Regions from separate parts of the Homo sapiens genome. Here region 2 is linked to region 1. Evidence: promoter capture Hi-C in human tissues and cell types (Jung and others, 2019). All regions are on one chromosome and are shown on one strand. Each heading gives the region's core, a stretch centred on a gene start or on the middle of the fragment in contact. The rest is flanking DNA. Distances are from core to core; before and after follow the strand shown.

Region 1 (3,256 bases), core at 373-2,872:
AATCCTAGGACTGGCGCGGCCGGCACCCTGCTGGGCCGGGCGCAGGGACCGGGGACCCGGAGCCGGCGGCCGCCCCTGGCCCTACGGCTCCCCCAGCCGGAACGCACCCCGCTCTCCTCCGCCCGCGCCGTCAGCGCGGACCCACGCGCTCGCCAACTTTTCCCCACTTCCCGGCTCCCCCTCCCCCTCCGCTCCCCCAGCCCCCTCCCCCTCCTCTCCAAACCCCGCCACCAGCGCCGCCGCCGCCACACACGCCGCTCGGAGGGGCGAGCGTCCAGCCGGGCTCGGCGCGCACACACACACACTCCTCCAGCCTGCATGCCCCCTCCCCGGCCCGGAGCCGGCTCCGCAGGCCCCCGAGCCCGAGGCGCGTCCGGCTGCTCGGCGCCCCAACTCCCCGGGCTGCAAAGAAACTTTCCTATGGCCCCCGCCCCCCGCCATGCTCCAGGCCGACGCCGTAGACTCTGCCAGCCAGCGGGCGGCCCCGGCGCCTGGCCAGGCTCGGCTGTTCCGGGCTCGGTGTCCCCAGCCCCAGACGCCCGGAGCCCCATCTCCGGCCCCTCGCGCGCACTCCGCAGACACTTACGGGTGATGAGCTCCCTCTGGGACAAGTGCTGCGGGTTGCCCTGTTTGCGGCGGGACATTGCCCCGGCATCTATTCTGGCATCGCCCGGAGAGCTGCACTGATGGGGGGAGCCGGGGGAGGGGGTCCGAGCCGCCGCCGCGCCGCTGCCGCCGCTGCCGCCGCCGCCGCCGCCGCCGCACCTCCTCCTCTGCCCGGGTTGGTGTTTTTTTTCCCTTCCTCTCTTTCCCTCTCTTCCTCCTCTTCTTCTTCTTTATTTTGCTCTTTCTTCTATGCTGTTTTTTGTTTTGTTTGCAAAAAGAAAAAAAAGGGAAGAAAAGCAAGAAAAACCTCTCGATCTAAAATAAGAAAAAGAGGCAAAAAAAAAAAAAACTGCTGTTGCTTTCCGCGGACTGGCTGGTTTCTTTAAAAATATATTCTTTCGAAGGAAAAAAAATCTCTTACACTTCTTCAAACTGCTTGGCCTCTTGCACTTGCAAATGTCTTCTTGAACTTAAACTGGGTTTTGCACCGGCTCCTGACACTTTCTTTCAGGGTCTGGTAGGTGGAAAGCGCACTTCTACCAGGAGGGGAAAAAAAATGCAAACAAATAAAAAAATAAAAGAAGAAAAAGCAAAGGAAAAAAAAAAGCAAAGAAAACTTGGGGACTTGTCTCGTACCCCCTCACCCCGCCCCCTCAAAAAACCCAAAGCAATGTAAAACTGCCCCGGTTCGGTTGTTTCTGGGTTTTCTGCGGGCTGCCTGTTTTTGTTTTTGTTTTTGTTTTTTCTCGGAGACTGACCCTTCCGAGGCTCTGGGGGGACACCAGGAGAGGCTCCTTCCCAGTTCACCTGGCAGGCTGGCGCCGGCCGGAGGGGCTGCCGAGTCCCCGCGAGCGCTCCCCAGCGCTCCCCTGGCGCCGCGGGCCCGGGGGGAGCGGGGCGGAGGGGCGGCTCGCCCAGTGCGCCTGGGTCGGTGCGGGCGCAGACTGGGAGCTATAGATTGCAACGTGAAGATGGCGGAGTCCGGGTTCTCTGGGAGCTCTCGGTCTCTCTATGGCTGGGGCTGCCTCTGTACAATGGGATAAAATTCAAGTTCAAGTGCGGACGTGACGTTTAATCTGCACTAGAGACAAAAAGACCCAGAGAGTCGGAGCACTGGGGGCGACTAGCGGTGGCTTTTTAACATTGTACCCTGTAAGAGAACAAGAAAGCACACACAGAGACACACTCGCGCGCGCGCGCACACTCACACACACACACACACAGTCGCCAGTTGCGCACACCCGCAGCCCAAGCCGGACACACGTGCAAACCGCGTTTTTGTGCGCTCATCTCCCCCGAGCCCCGGCTGCGCAACAGCGGGAGGGGGTTGGGGGGGGCCACTGGGCAGCTTATTTTAAAATAAAAGAAAAATCGTCCTTATATCTCCTCCATCCTGGGAGCAGGACCCCCTGAGAAGGGGGGCGGGGTGCTGTGTGAGTGAACTAAATTGAATCAATGCAAGTCTCCACCCACCCAAAAGCTCTTTCGGACTTGGACTTTGGGGGTGGGGGCGTGGACTGTGGAAAAGGGTTGGGGTCGACATGGGAGTTGGGGGGACAGTAAGAATCGCTTCGTTTCCCTGGAAAAGTCGCTTGGTAGTTTTTACTTTTGTTTTATGGTCGCGGGCGGCGAGGGGAGGGGAGTAGATGTTGGAGTTCAACTTCCAAAAAGTGTCTCCATATAAATCCTGGTATTACAGACTCTGGGAGGGTGAGGATGACAAAATAAACGACACTAAGACAACAGAATCAAGAGCACGTGAGGGGGTGAGAAGTGTTTGAGACCTTGTTTGAGTCCCACTTGGAAAAGGATTTTCACTCAAATCTTTGTCCCCTCCCCTCACCTTACCCCGATTAACTCCTGGGGTCAAACACGACCCCACCTCCTAAACTGGGTCTATGGCAAGCGAGAGGGTAAAGGGACCGGGGCGCTCCACGTGGGAGAGGGACTTGGACTTGCCAGCCCAGGAGTAGGTGTGGCCAAATCTCCGCAGATACTCGGGTGGGTGACTCCAGGAGGCGCCCCTGACAATCACAGCAACCTGGAAGTCACACCCCGCCCCCCGCGCTCCTCGGCCCAGGGTAGGACTTGGAAATGCCTGTCAGACTGGGAAGGACGCAGCTGCCTTGTCAGCCGTTTGATCTCCAACCGGCGAGGACAAGAGGAGTTGTGGGGCCTCTCCGTGGCCCGGGGACAAGGCCAGACCACGGCCCCCGTGGACACCCCCCATTCCCCAGGCTGTGGCCAACTTTGTCAATTTGATGACCTGGCCTCCAGGGCTGGGCGCGCCACGCGGCTGGCCTCCTCTCCCTTCTCAGGGTTTCTCTGGAGGCGGCCAGGGCGGGTCGGGGCCTGGCTCCGGCTAGGCTTCGCGGGCGAGTCCAGCTGCACCCACCCCACTCCGCCCCCAGGCCTGGCTCCGGCGGCTTCACCCGGGCGCATGGCGAGGCCGTGACGCCTCAGCGCCGCCTCCCTCGGGGCCTTTTCCTCGGGGGGCACACGGGGGTTTTTGTTTTCGTCCCGAAGGTCTTGGGTGGGGCGATGGCACCAACAATTTAACAGCGCCCAGAGTCCGTGAGCGAGAACAGAAAGAGATCCCTTCCAGTCCCATACCCTAAAAAATAATAACAATAAAATGTGCCCTGGCTTG
Region 2 (3,041 bases), core at 331-2,830, 1.2 Mb before region 1:
CCCTGGAAAGTTAGAAAAGAGGAAGTGATCAGTATTAGTTTTCTCCATAGAGGAAGCAAAAGGGAGAAAGAATTTCAGACTGGTGAGGTTGTCCTTCCTGGCTCTCCCACTTGGTAGCTGTGATAATTTTATATGTCAACTTGACTGGACCACAGGGTGCCCAGATTCAACATTATTATGAGATTAGCATTTGAATCAATAGACTCAGTTAAGCAGATTGCCCTTTGCAGTGTGGGTGGGCATAGTTCAATCTGTTGGAGGCCCAAATAGAACAAAAAGGCAAAAGAAGGGGGAACTAGCTCTCTTTGCCTGACTGCTTGAGCTGGGACATCGACTTGCTCCTGCCCTTGACTGGGACTTCTACCATCAACTCTCTGGTTCTCAGGACTACATCACCAGCTTCCTTTGGTCTACAGCTTGCAGACAGCAGACTGTGGGACTTCTCAGCCTCCATATTCACACAAGCCAATTCTTTACAATAAAGACATTTATTATTCCTGTGGTATTGGCAAACCAGAAAGCCTTAAGTCACCTGTTTTCTCCTCTCTACAATGTGCAGAACCCAACAAATCCAGGATGAGCTGTTGTGCATAGAAAACAAACTGAAGAAAAGCTTTTTGCAAAGTTTCTAAGGTTATCAAAATTGCATCTCCTGCTATTATTTTGTTGTTGTTGTTGTTGTCATCACCTGGTATACTAGAAGAACTAGAAGGAGATTTTCCCTCCAAAAAGAAAATTAAATATTGTGTGATGTGGACATTTGACCTGCTAGAGTCTTACATGTGCTCTGAAAACAAAATCTGAGTAATGTAGACCATTTCTACATAAGGCAGTCATGTACCTAGGAGGCTCAATTTTTTAAATTAATTTATTTATAAAATGGTTGCAATGTAAAATAATGCAATAGTACAATGCAATATCCATAAAACTAGAATGTTAAGACTAAAGGAGGAATATAAATAAGGTAATAGCAGCCATATCTGACTAATTTGACCTTCCAATATGTTGCAGAGCTTGCTGGTGTCCCAGGTGAAGTGAAGACATGATCAGTCATAAAATATTCATTGTTGGGAAAGAGTGATCAGGTCACTCTCTTGGGGTAAATTACTTTATTTTCCAGCTATATTTCTAAAGTACTTTTATGAAGAGTTCATATAATTTTATATTTTAAAAATTGAGATATTTCATAGCATATTCTCAAATGTATAGAATATTATGCCAAACCTCTTTCCATCCCAGCTTCATCAACAGCTATTTTTTAATATTTTTCATCATCAACTAGTTGTGTAACAAATAAGTACTATTCACTTTTACTCTCAGAAATGTAGTTTCTTCGCCATGTTGAGAGGACTACAGATGCTTTTTGTAAAATGGTTAGCATGGTCTCTGAGACTTTGTCAATTCTCAGTATATAGTTGCTGTTATTATTACTATTTTTATTTTCATTACATGGAAGTCCAGGGGACACTAAATGATAGAGATGAAAATATTTCTCTAAACATTACTCCAGCAAGTGGGTTTCTGTAGCACGGCAGGCAAGGAGACCAGAAAGATGTCTCAGCTAAGATACAACAGCTCTTGATATGATTAGAAAATTACAATGCAAACATAATTTTAATGCTTTTATGGGATTGATAGAATATAAGGGGAATCTCTAAGAAATAAAAACAAAGAAACAAGCATGACTGAGCTGAGACTGGAACAAGGAACTTGAGCAATGAGCAAGTCTACGTTAAGGAAGCCAAGCCCAAGAGCCTGGTAAGATGGAGGAGCTTGACCTCAGACCTACATGTAACATCAGCAACCTTACAAAGAGCCAAAAATAGTACCAGGTCTGCAGGGTTCTCTGGCCCTCAGCAAAAGCAAATGAAATTCCTTTCTCAGATCATACGGCACATGTAGTCCTTATGCATAAGTGTATGTTCACACACACACATGGAGTTATAGATTTGATATAAAATAAGTAATGTGAAATATCTCAAGAAATAAAAGACGAAATCAAAAAATTAGAAACAATTTATCAAACATGGCACAGCAGATTAGAGAAGAGAGCTACATAGTCTTTCTAGAAATAAAATTATTGAAATTCAAAACCTAGTAAATGCATAAACATTAACTGAGAAACGAACTGAAAATTGGTGATTAAGAAGGCAAATCAGAAGAAATGCTCAGCATATTGGAAAAAAAGGCAAGCAAACAGAAAATATAAAAAGGTGATAAAATGTAGACATACAGAACGTAGAAAAATGTAGACACACAGAACGTAGAAAAATATAGAAATTGCAATGGATATCAAGCAGTATTAAAGAAAGCAAACAAGTAACTTCACACTTCAATGCACTGTTGTAAAACTAAAGAACTTCAAATAAGATTTTAAAAGCAGCCAGAGTGAAAAGATGACCAAGCTAACACTAGACTTCTCAAAAGAAATAATGGAAAAAAGAAGATGGTGGAGTAACATTTTCTAAGTTTTGAGAGATGGTAAATTTCAAGCAAGAACTGGATACTCAGTAGAACTATCATTAAAAAGAAATATATAAAAATATTTTTTCCCAACATTTATTTTAAGTTCAGGGGGTACACATGCAGGTTTGTTACATGGGTAAATAGTGTGTCACTCGGCTTTGGTGTACAAATGATTTTGTCACCCAAGTAGTAACCATAGTACCCAATAGGTAGTTTTTCTATCCTCTTCTATCCTCTTCCTCCTCCCACCCTCCACCCTCAAGTAGGCTCCAGTGTCTATTGTTTCCCTCTTTGTGTCCATGTACACTCAATGTTTAGCTCCTACTTATAAGTATGAACATGTGGTATTTGGTTTTCTGTTCCTGCATAAATTTGCTTAGAATAATGGCCTCCAGCTGCCTCCATGTTGCTGCAAAGCACTTGATTTTGTTCTTTGTTATGGTTGTACAGTATTCCATGGTGTGTATATGAGTACCACATTTTCTTTATCCAGTCCACCACTGATGTGCATCTAGGTTGATTCCATGTCATTGCTATTAAGAAAAGTGCTGCAATAAGCCTACATGTGAATGTGT

The links. The method cuts DNA at HindIII sites, captures the fragments that hold promoters and counts their contacts. A contact is called where the count stands out against the background at its distance.
Region 2: a fragment that was not itself captured here is called in contact with the fragment with the promoter of BCL11B in region 1 in 1 of the 25 tissues and cell types used here (dorsolateral prefrontal cortex).

Annotation. Positions count from the first base shown.
Region 1 is chr14:99,270,575-99,273,830 of GRCh38, forward strand. It overlaps BCL11B (BCL11 transcription factor B), which reads right to left and starts at 1,623. Exons shown (of 4, transcript NM_138576.4): 1 at 587-1,623. The coding sequence starts at 644. RefSeq lists a silencer at 1,470-1,549. The HindIII fragment of the contact is 16,916 bases long and covers 1-3,256 here.
Region 2 is chr14:98,082,741-98,085,781 of GRCh38, forward strand. The region is part of intron 1 of LOC105370655 (a long non-coding RNA gene); the gene reads right to left. Among named protein-coding and RNA genes, the nearest start is that of LINC02295, 52 kb to the right of the region's middle. The HindIII fragment of the contact is 9,177 bases long and covers 1-3,041 here.